Linked DNA regions of Homo sapiens: region 2 is linked to region 1. The links are contacts of gene promoters, found by promoter capture Hi-C in blood cells and fetal thymus (Javierre and others, 2016). All regions are on one chromosome and are shown on one strand. Each heading gives the region's core, a stretch centred on a gene start or on the middle of the fragment in contact. The rest is flanking DNA. Distances are from core to core; before and after follow the strand shown.

Region 1 (5,863 bases), core at 2,032-4,531:
CTCCCAGTGAATTTTGTTACTGAGCCAGAGAGCTCTGCAGGCAGCTCTCCTGTCTGTGGCAAATCTTCCCCTAAACTAGAAGCTGCTTCAGAAATCCTGGTGGAGACAGGCAAGGACCCAGGGCCCAGTAAAGTTCCTACTCCGGAGCAGAGGAGTCCTGGGGAAAGGAAGGGTGGAGCTCTGTAGTCCTCCTCCTCTTAGCAGGCCAGGGAAGCTGGCATGGAGCCAGGGATGGGGAGTACATCCAAGCCCAAGCAGGTGGGAGCTACTGGGCTGTTCAGTGAGGTGGCTCCAATCTTTGAGGTGCTACTTTCTAGCCAAATGAACTTGGTCAAGTCATTTAATTTTTCTAAACTTCTATTTCCTGTAAAATGGGAATAACATCAGTACTTTCCCCACTGGGGTTATGAGAAGCTAGCTGAGGGATTATATAAAGATGAGTAGAATGCCTGGCTTCTATTAAATGCTCATAAATGTTAACTATTTTCATGATTGGAAGTGGGGACTTTAGCCAAAAGATCCAGATCCAACCACTCCCTCTATAACCTGCATCCTCTGAGACCTGTACCTGTTTAAAAACACACAACTGTGTATATATTAAACTATGTATATATTTAACACACACATCTTAAAAATAGCTCCAGATGACAGAACAGTATTGCATACACAGGTCCATACATGGGACCCTCCAAGTCCCAGGCACCCTTCCCTGATCACTGTGTCCTAGAAATGATTTCCTGTGTCAGTGACACAGAGGAACTGTCCAAGCAAGCCTCCAGTCCCAAGCAAGCCTCCAGGCCCTGAGTGTTCTGATGCCTGAAGGGTAGTCATAGGTCCCGAGGTGGAGTCGGGGGTGGAGTGCTGGGGTCCCATAGGATGTCCTCATATGGGCTTAGAACTGGGCCCGACAGCCATCCTTGAGCCCCAGTCTGCTCCAGCAGGGCTTTGAGCAAGCCCACAGTGAGAGGGGGCTCTGCTCCAGGCTCAGGGAATGGGGTTGGGGGCCCCACCTCATCTGGGAGGTATGTCCTCAGTAGAAGCAGGAGCTCAGCTGGAGCCAGTTCTGGTGGGCACAGGCGGCAAAGGAGGGGGAGGTGAGCATCAAGCCGGCGGTGCTGGGCAAACTCGGCCAGCAGCAGTTTGAAGATTTCACTTCGAAGCAGGGGACTGGAGGGGCCGAGGGCCAGGCCAGCATCCAGAGCCCGATCCCATTGTTCCTTTTGCACCAGCTGCCCGACAGCTTGGAGCACAGCTTTAGGCCGCCCACTGCTCAAGAGCAGCTCTAGCTCCAGAGCCTCAGGCCTGGTCCCCTCCTCACCTAGCACTGCCAGAGCTCGGCGATACAGGGGCAGTCCTGGGCCCCCTGCCCCCCAGCCCGGCCCGCCCTGCTGCTGTGCCAGCTCCACAAAGGGTGGCAGCCATCGAGGCTCCAGCTGGCACAGACACTGGCACAGGAGTTCAAAGGGGGGCAGTATTCCATTGGGGGGTTCCTTTCCAGCGGTTATTCCCCCTAACACTTTCTTCCACACATCAGGGGGTGCTTGGGACCTCAGCTTGCCATTCCCATCTAGCTGGAGCTGCAGGGCCCTGAGGGTGGCACCCCAGGCTGCTGTAGGAAGGGCTTGGAAAACGGTGTTGAGCTGGGCTAGCTGGTCTCCTATCAACTCAGTCCTCAGCAGGCGTGCCACTTCCTGCTCCGCCAGCTCAGTCCAACCAGCCTCCTCATCATCCCCAGCCACCAGCTGGGCCTTCAGCTGTTCTAAGCCTCGGTAATCCCGAAGCTCGGTCCTCAACATGGTCAGCAGTGCAGATGGGGGCAGGTGGCCCTGGAGGATGGAGGCCAGAGCCTGAGGTGCCCGGAATGTGCTGCTGTGTCTCAGTTCTTCTGGAGTGAGCTGGGCACCCCGCAGGCTCCGCCGCTGGTAGTACCCGCAGGCCTCCTCAAACACCAGATCCTTGGCTGAAGGCAACTCAACACCCTGTGGGGCTTCCCAGCCCACACAAAACAGACCCAAGGCTGAAAGCAGACGAAGATTCCCTCGGGTCTCCAGCTCTTCCTCATCCTCCATGCCGGGGGCTGGCGGTTCTAGCAGATGTACCCTGTCTGTACTTAGGACCTTCCTCTCCAGCAGCTGCCCACTGCCCATGTCCAGCAGTTCCAATGTGGAGCCCAGCACACAGGCCAGAGTGCCCTGAAATGTGCCTAGGGCTGCAGACCCCCACGGGCCTACAGGTGCCTCCTGCAGGGTGCCCACAGCCCGCGTACCACCGTGGGACTGCAATAGGCTCACAGTGCCCCCGAAGTCAAGCAACAGCAGGCCCTGGGGAGTTGGGGCCCAGGTGTGTACAGCCAGTGGCTCCCTGGGGGACAGCAACCCAGGAAGGCCTCGGAGCAGGGTCCGGAAGTCCCATGTGTCCCCTCGTCCAGGATTCAGACTCTTACTGTAGGAGAGACCAAGCCGTGGGGCAGCCACCATCACTTTGCCCTTGCCTGGGCTCCAGATGAGTAGAACGTGGGCCACGCCAGGCCAGGTGGTGGCAGTGGGCACCAGGAAGAGTTGTCTGCAGGAGGCCAGCAGCCCGAAGGCAGGGCAGTGGTGCAGCAGGACGTGTGTGCGGCCCAGGCTGGTGCTAGCTTCCCCGCTGGGCTCCAGAGTCCGGACGCACACACAGTGGCTGAAAGCGGCTGCTGGCGACCCTGACGGGCCCTCGGCCCGGGCCTGCCGCTCCTCGCACCACACCAGGCGGCCTCGGAGCGCCGCCACTGCCACAACGCGGGCTCCCCCGCCCGGACACAGCTCGGTGCTCTGCAGCGGCCGCCAGCCAGGCCCCACGCCCGCGCCCCACACCTCGGCCAGGCCACTCTCCCACACCAGCACCAGCGCCGGCCGCGCTGGCCACGGCAGGAAGAAGGCGTCCAGCGGGGAGGGCTGGCCGGCCGGCCAGGCCCGCTCTAGCTCCGCGCCGGGCCCTCGCGACGCGACTAGCAGCTGTGGGGCTACCGCCCCAGGGGGTCGCAGGAGCAGCAAGTGGCGGCCGTCCGGACTGCCACGGACTCGGACCGCTGAGTCCCCGGCCACCAGCTCCCGGAGCCGCGCCGCGCCGCCGAAGGCGCTCAGGTCCGAGAGCAGCCGCAGAGTCCCCGAGCGCTTCATGGCGCCGCTGCGCGGGAGCGCGCCCAGGCTTTGCCCAGGTCCAGCCGCCCAGCAGGGCGAGGCCCGATTCTCGGGGGAGCGGAGCAGGGCCAAGACTTCCGTCTCCCGTGGATGAGGTGAGCAGAGGCCGGGCCGAGCGTCGACTCCGCCCCGCCCGGCCGGCTCCGGGATGCCTCCCGCAGTCGCTGGGCCGACACTACACGCCCGCCGGGGGAGGAGCCACGGGAGCGCCCCAGGGGCTCAGCGCCTGGACCGCGCCCGCCCGGGCACGCTCTCGGCGCAGGGGGAGGCCCTTCCCCAGACCCCAGGACGCCGCCCAGTGGCCCGGAGTCCCACGCAGGAATAGGGATTCCAGCCCCCTGAGCCCCTCTCCCAAGAATTTCACCCCAATTTACTCATTCAGGAAATTTTCGTTGAGCACATGCTTTGTGCCAGGCTCTGAGTAGACAGCCCTAAACAAAATAGAAAACCTCAACCTCATGGAGATGACAATCTAGTGGAAATAGTAAACATGGCTGGGCGCGGTGGCTCACGCCTATAATCTTAGCACTTTGGGAGGCTGAGGTGGGAGGATTGCTTGAGGCCAGGCGTTCGAGACCAGCCTGAGCAACATAGGCAGACCTTGTCTCTATAAAAATTTTAAAAAGACAGAAAGAAAGAAAGAGAGAGAGAGAGAAGGAAGGAAGGAAAGAAAACCACTTCCATATCACTATGTGACAGCCTTCTCTATCCCCTAGTCCCTTTTACAGATAAGGAGGATGAAGCACAGAGAGATTACGTAACTTAACTAAGATCAAGCAGGTATTAAGTGGTGGAGGTGGGATTTCAACCACAGGCACTCTGGCTCCAGAGTCAGTGCAACAAATCACTTTATCATATCAACAACTCATCACCCAAACCAAAACAGAGAAACATAATTTAGAAGCACTGAGCCTGTGTACCGACTCTTCAGTAACACCTACAAATTTGTATGCAGGGGTCCTTCCACCCCTTGACTGCCTTTTCAGGTGAGCAGTTTTCCTCCTCTCTCCAAGGCCAATCCCTCTTTATGAGCCCTGCCTCTCCTCCCCGGCCCCTACCTTCCTTGAGAACTTGCATCCATTTCTGTTTCACTGCCCTCATTCCGTCCTCAGCATAGAAATACCCTGTCATCTCTCCTGTCTTGGAATTCGTTCTTTCATCCTCATCTCCCCACTTCCACCTCCATCACTCCCTCCCCTTTTCCTTTCTCAGTCAATTTTCTTGCAAGGATGCTACATTTGCCACCTCCACTTTCTTTCCTTCTATCCTCAACCCACTACTTCCCTGAAGTAGCTTTTGCTGAGGTCTTCAAGGACATTTTTATTTGACAGCCTTCTCATTGAAAGTCCCTCCTGTGGTTTGCACTGCATCTTTCCTGGCTGGTTTTCCTTTCCTTTTATTTTATTTTATTTTTTTATTTTTATTTTTAGATAGCACTGCCTTCAGAGTTTTATTTGCCTTTGGTTCATCTTCCTCCATCCTTTATTGATTGATTGATTGAGATAGAGTCTCACTCTGTCGCCCACGTTTGAGTGAAGTGGCACCATCTTGGCTCAGTGCAACCTCTGCCTCCTGGGTTCAAGCGATTCTCCTGCCCAGCCTCCCGAGTAGCTGGGATTAGAGGCACCCACCACCACGCCCACCTAATTTTTGTATTTTCAGTAGAGACAGGGTTTCACCTTGCTGGCCGGGATGGTCTTGATCTCTTGACCTCGTGATCCACATGCCTTGGCCTCCCAAAGTGCTGGGATTACAGGCATGAGCCACCGTGCCTGGCCTATTTATTTATTTATTGAGACAGAGTCTTGCTCCGTTGCCCAGGTTGAAGTGCAGTGGCGCAATCTCGGCTCACTGCTATCTCCATGTCCCAGGTTCAAGCGATTCTCCTGCCTAAGCCTCCCTCCCTAGTAGCTGGGATTTCAGAAGTGCACCACCATGCCCAGCTACTTTTTATATTTTTAGTAGAGGTCGGGTTTTGCTATGTTGGTTGGCCAGGCTGGTCTCGAACTCCAGGCCTCAAGTGATCTGCCCGCCTTAGCCTCTCAAAATGTTAGAATTACAGGTGTGAGCCACTGTACCCGGCCCCTCCATCATCCTTTAAATGTGCTCTTCCTCCTATATCCTGATTCCACTTTGAGCCCCTTTATTTTTTTCTTTTGCCTACAGCTCAGACGTCTCTGCTAAGCTCCACACAAAAAAAGAGCATCCAAATGTCTACTAAATATTTATTTCTGCCTAAGATGTCTCATCTCACAGACATTTCATTCTCAACATGTCCTAAACATCATCTTCCTGCCCCAAACTGCTCCTCCTTCAGTTGCTCTTAGTTGACATAGATTTCTTTTGTTTTTGTATCCTATCCTCATATTTAGAGTAGAGCCTGACACAAAGTCTCCACAGATGTTTGGTGAAGGAATCATTACGTTTTCATGGGCACATGTTTGTGTGTGTGATATCACTTAGAAAACTTTTCCTTAAAAATTACAGAAGTAGGCCAGGCACGGTGGTTCACGCATGCAGTTCCAGCTACTCAGGAGGCTGAGGCAAGAGGATTACTTGAGGCCAGGAGTTGGAGTCTGTGGTGTGCAATGATTGTGCCTGTGAATAGCCACTGCACTACAGCCTGGGCAACATGGCAAGCATCCTGTCTCTTTAAAAAAAAAAATTACAGAAACAGACCATGGCTG
Region 2 (5,863 bases), core at 1,873-4,372, 160 kb after region 1:
TACTCCCATGGGAGCCTGAAAGACCTGCCTCCAACTTAGAAAACTGCTTTGTGTTTACAGTTAGTTTAGGGGAGAAGAGGTAGAGAACCTGCCCTGGCCTGTCTCCATGAGCATCTTTGAGTCAGTACTGAGCAAACAGGTGTAAACAGGACCCCAACAGGCAGAGGTCTTGTGGCTTTCACAAAAGTTGTCCTGCTTCCCCTTAGATGGAAAATATTTAAAATGAGACACTGGGAAAGGAAGCTATAACTTTTATCTTTAGTTTACTGGAAAAATTTGACTATTTGTTGAAGGCATGAACCTAATTTTTAACTAGTAAGGTTTCTTTTGTTTGATTTAGTAAAAGTTCGGTATCAGTCTCCTTCCCTGTAAGAAAATGTGCCCACACATTCTCACCTTTCCTTGCCTAATTATAAACTAATTCATATTTTGAGACTCTGCTCAAGCACCCTGTCCTTCAGAATGTCCTTTCTAAGCCTGCAGGTTGGGCTAAGCACCCCTCCTCTGTGCTTCCATGATACCTTTTGTCTACTCTTTGTCTGCCTTAGCCTTTACCACATCATAATGAAATTATCTGTCTGTCGTGTGTGTCTTTTCCATTTATGAACTCCTTGATCTCTGGGATTTATTTTATTCACAACCTTCATTGCCTAGCGTAGTGCCTGCACATGATAGGTATTCATATGTTTGTCAAACAAACTGAATTATCAAGAGTCACTGGCAGTGCTGGCAAACCTTTAGCTTCAGATACTGTAGAACTTCCTTCTAGGGACAGAGATTCCTTGACTATATGAGAAAGCAGTCAATTTGCAGAGTAAGAGAGGAGAAAATATAGAAGTTCTGTTTCTAAAACAGTGCTTATAGCATAAACAAAGTTCTTTAATTACTTTAAAACTAAATTTCTCCTTTTGGTAGCGTCACCTTTCAGGAGGAAGAAAACTTACTGCTCTTTCTGGTATATTGAAGAGATGGCAGCTAATAACCTCTTTGTGAGCATAAAACAATTATACCAGCCTCCTGTGGAGACAATCTGCCAGAGCCAACCGCCTCACCCTCCGCATGGGCTTCATTTTCTTACTCTGGAATCTCATCGACTCTCCCCTAAAGACCTTCATCTTGTTGCACTATTATGATGAATGTTTGGAGCTGGCTCTCACCCCCTGCTTTACTAGCTATTACTGGAGGTGCCGTCAAAGAATCAGGCCCCAAATTTATCCTCCCATTAAGTCCTCTCCTGGGCAGCGCTGCTTGGTTCTGAGTAGCAGTCATCTAGTTTCCCCTCCTTTTCCCACCTCCCGCTGCCTTTGAATGTAAGGAAACTGCAGGCCCTGTTGCAGACAAAGAGCTGTGGTAGAAAGTAAGGTTGCAAATCACTTTCTACCACAGCTCTTTGTTTGCTCTTGTTCTAGACCTGAAGAGAAGTGCGCACGTATGAGTGCCTGTGCGTGCATCTGCTGTGAGACCTCCAACATCATTTTCTGTCACAAGCCCAGCCCAGAAGTGCCACAAGTGACATTTCTTCAGTTGGTTGGTTGTATCTGTCTCCCAGCAATGTCTTTAGGATTTCTTCTCCATAATAAGTTAGAGATGTATCGGTTTCTGGACACAGGGACCTTACCTACTTCTGTCTATTCATATCTGTTCCTCTGAGTAATAGACATATGGTCTTTGGCTTTTTAAACTAGTTATATGATTTTTTGAATTTGTCTCACAGCTACTCTTAACAGCCTTCCCCTTGTGAGAGTTTCTGTTGAATAAAAGCTTTCTGGGTCTCTGATGTAGTTGGTTGGCATTTGGTCAATTTGGGGCTTTCATTTTGACTCTCAAAATTATTTGCAGAAAGAAATAGGGCCAAAAGGTGCTTCAAGTGCCATTTGTAAATCTTAGGATAATTGATAAGTATTCATTTATTCTAGCAAGCAGTGGATTTTGTTAAATAATAGATACTGATTAGGTCTCAACAAATCTGACCCTGTTAGCTTTGGTGCTAACTCATTAATAAAGCTGATGTTGAGGCTGCCATTAACATTAGAAAAGCGATGTTCCCTAGTAATATTTCTTTCCTTGAGGAGAAACTATTTTGCAATGAAGTTTTAACTTCTTCCCTTTTCAGAGAGACTATCAACTTCACTTAGGCAGAACGGTTCAATACTTTGGGCAGCTTGTTTATTCTTTATTTACTTCTTGATTTACCAAACTATCCCATTTTCTTTACCTCACTGACATAACTGCTACCCAGCCCCCCTGCTTTCTCCCATCCTCTCTACCTCTCAAGCCTCCCTTCTGTAGCCAACCCTACCACCTGCCACAGTATCCACACCCAGGCTTCTTATAGGAAGCCATCTCTGTGAGGGTCTGTCTGAAAGCAACATAAGTCAGTGCTGGAGCAGGTGAAAGCAGCCTGCTTTTTCAGAGCTGACGAGAAGGGCGAAGCTCTCTGTCACAGTGGGTGGGTGAGCAGCTAGGGCCGAGTAACGCCACGTCTCAGTGGTTAGCACCTGCAGGCTCAGAGCTGACAGTGCACTGTAATAAGATTCATCTTTGTTCACTTAACTGATGTGGGCTTTATGGTAAATGTTCGTTTGCTTAATTACTTTGGCAGACTTGCTGATTGCCTTTCCTGAGGAGTTCTAAAAGGTCCCCCTGGGATGGAGTATAAGCCTGTTTCCGTGTCTTTTAATTTCATTCTTTTCCTGGAGTACTTGAAAACCAGTACGTGATCCATATGGCCCACCCTCTCATCTCTCCTGTATGTGAACATCAGGACCACTGCTATCTAGTATGGAATCCATATGGCCCACACTGGACCACTGGGAAATCTTGACAGGTTTCTTCCTCCTTTGTGCACATGAGATCCTCCTCCTCCACCACTGAGGTATTATGTATGGCTCATCTAGTCTAGTTTAGGATTCATATGCCTCTTTTTCTCTAACTGGCATGGGATCCACAGAATATTTCCCTCCTTCCTCAGTCTAGCATGTGATCCACTAAAATAATTTCCCTTTATTTTTAGAGACAGGGTCTTGCTCTGTTGCCCAGGCTGGAGTACAGTGGCATGATCACAGCTCACTGTAACCTCAAACTCCTGGGTTCAAGCAATTCTCATGCCTCATCCTCATGAATGGCTAGGGCTATAGGTGTGCACATTATGCTGGCTAATTTAAAAAAAATTTTTTGTAGATATGGGGGTCTCACTATGTTGCCCAAGCTGCTCTTGAACTCCTGGCCTCAAGCAGTTCTCCCACCTGGGCGTCCCAAAGTGTTGGGATTACAGGCATAAGCCACTGTGACCAGCCAATTCGCCTTTATTTTTGAAGTGACGGGAAAAGAAGACTAGTCAATTGCTCATTTTCTTGCTCTCCCATGCTTAAAATTTAAGTGTCTTATAATAAATTGATTAATTGGGCTAATGGGAATGAGGTGTAATTAAAATATTTCAGGTTTTTGTCTCATGCCAGTTTTTAAAAAGTTCTTAATTCATATTCAAGAGATTGGAATGTTCACCATTAATCAAAATTAGATCAGTTTTGGGGGTTTTGAGCTTATCTCCAGTGCTTCAGAATTCCTCTTAGGTATGTGTTAGGATTTTCTTATGTTCTGAAAAGGGACAGAACATCTAATACACATTTTCTTATAGGCCATTTTGTTCCTTTATATTCATTTGGCATTTCTGAGCGTGTAGAGGAGCCTTGCTTCTGGAAATAGGAAATCCAGGAAAAGGGAAATAGGAAAACCAATTCCAAAGATTATTAGAGGTTTTCATTCTGTAGCCCCAGGAACTCTGCCAGTAACTTCGGACCTGCCACTAGAGAACAGAGTAAGGTAGTCAGAAGCACAGAGTGATGGATCTGAGCAACGATAGGATAATCTTATAGGTGTTTTATGTTTAGGAAAGTTTTGGAGCCTCTTTTCATTTATTGAAAGATTTAATAAAAAGTAGACATAAGGGGAATGGATTAAGTGATGATGCCTTTTATGGAAATGTAGATGGTCCATTTGACTTTTGTGGTTCTTTCAACACTTGTGGTTCATTCTTCTCCATTTACATTGGATCATTGGGTAAAGTAAGCAACTAGATGCACTGGTCAGTAGTTTATCCTTCTTGCTGGTTGTCAAAATGCCTTTTATACTAACTAAGGTTCCATTTTTGTGTCTTTGGTCCTGAAAAGAATGGCCACAGGGACAGTAGTATAATTTATGGAGGGAAATAATTGTCCTGAAAGGGTTAAGACCTAAACCTTAGGGGGTAAGTTAGAAGGATAATCCTAACAGGTCAGTTGCTGATGTTTTGATTAGATAGTTTCAAAGTGAAAAGGTTAGAAGGTATTCTTACTTGAGGTTTTATTTTGTTTAATGTTAATCAGCAGAGTCTTTGAGGCTTGTAATGCACTTCTGTTAACAGGCATCAAGGGAAATTGCTTTTTTTGTTGTTGGTGATTTGGGTGGGCTGAAGATTCATTGACTCCATGAAGAAGGAAGCTTAGTACTGCATGAAATGGGAGTCTGTGAGGCAATTCTGAAGGTGAAAGAAATGTTAGTTTAAAATTAAATAACTCAACCTCAGATGAACCATTTTAACTACTGCCACATACACTCAGTCATACCTTTACCCCTTCTCAAAAGCCAGTATTTTACCTGTATGCCTGAAGGTTTCCCAGGTAAAAGCAATTACGAATATGATGGTTTTCTTGTCTTTAATCTCAGATACCTGAGAACATACTCTGTAGTATATTGCATAGTAGTATATCACTGGACTGGTCTAGGAAAAGGGAAGCTGCCTTGGGGGAAAAAAAATTCCTTAGGGCTAGTTAGATGGTATACAGGAAAACAGAGAGGAAAGTTTTGGAAGTGAAATTCAACCAAAGAAACTACTACTCAGAGAGGTTGGTCTCTTGCCCAAAGTCACACAGTTAATAAGTGGAGGAATCCAGATTTTTTCAAATCTCCTTTCTCTAAAGCCTTGCTGTTTTCTGTATGAACCATGTTGTTCGGGGAAGCAATGGTATTTTAACTGGGCCTTCAAGGAAAAAGATGACTTAGGCTTTTTAGTGGTGATAACATTCTATGTGAAGAGATCCAGGTAAACAAAAGCAAGACATCCAGGTGTAAATATTTAGTAAGCATTTGAAAATACAGGGCTACAGCTCTTAATGAGGTTGGAGCTTAAGATCCAAATTTTTTACTAAGCTTGAGAAATTCACCCACAATCAGACTCGTTAATGTAAATCTGGTAGTCTTATAAGAGTAGTTTTAGGGTGAAACCTTCAAGAATCTTCATATACATACATATATGTGTGTGTGTGTGTGCGCGTGTGCGCGTATTGAGTATAACAGTTATGTTTCCTCCTTCCTTGGAATGAGAGTTACAAAAACAACTTTTGCTTGTTTTTCCCTGTTCTGCCTGAAAGATGTACATAGCAGCTTTTAGAGATAGCCTGCTTCCTTCAGGTATCTCAGTAATGAAACAATCGCCATGTTCTGAGCTTCTGAATGAAACTATTTATTTATTGTTTCATTAAAGACTCGTAGATGCTTCTGTCCATGGGAGATTGCATTTTGGAGGATTTGCTTTAGCTTTATATTGGATATGAGGAGGAATCCACATTTTCTTTTTCTTCTTCTTTTTTTTTTATTTCTTAAGACTGGGTCTTGCTCTGTCACCCAGGCTAGGGAGCGCAGTGGTGTGATCATGGTTCCCTGCAGCCTTGACATCCCTGGCTCAAATCATCCTCCCATCTCAGCCTCCTGAGTAGCTGGGACTACAACAGGCACATGTCACCATGCCCAGCTAATTTTAAAAAAAAAAAATTTTTTTTTTTGTGCTCCTGAGCTAAGCACTTCTCCCACTTCAGCCTCGCAAAGT

What was found. The method cuts DNA at HindIII sites, captures the fragments that hold promoters and counts their contacts. A CHiCAGO score of 5 or more calls a contact.
Region 2: a contact is called between a fragment that was not itself captured here and the fragment with the promoter of HPS6 in region 1, in 1 of 17 cell types (erythroblasts). The highest score is 5.9, in erythroblasts.

The regions. Positions count from the first base shown.
Region 1 is chr10:102,062,767-102,068,629 of GRCh38, reverse strand. It overlaps HPS6 (HPS6 biogenesis of lysosomal organelles complex 2 subunit 3), which reads right to left and starts at 3,281. Exons shown (of 1, transcript NM_024747.6): 1 at 594-3,281. The coding sequence starts at 3,155. The coding sequence ends at 828. RefSeq lists a silencer at 2,860-3,529 and an enhancer at 3,740-3,789. The HindIII fragment of the contact is 26,306 bases long and covers 1-5,863 here.
Region 2 is chr10:101,898,133-101,903,995 of GRCh38, reverse strand. The region is part of intron 23 of ARMH3 (armadillo like helical domain containing 3); the gene reads left to right. Among named protein-coding and RNA genes, the nearest start is that of KCNIP2, 57 kb to the right of the region's middle. RefSeq lists enhancers at 867-1,530, 1,530-1,689. The HindIII fragment of the contact is 2,718 bases long and covers 1,764-4,481 here.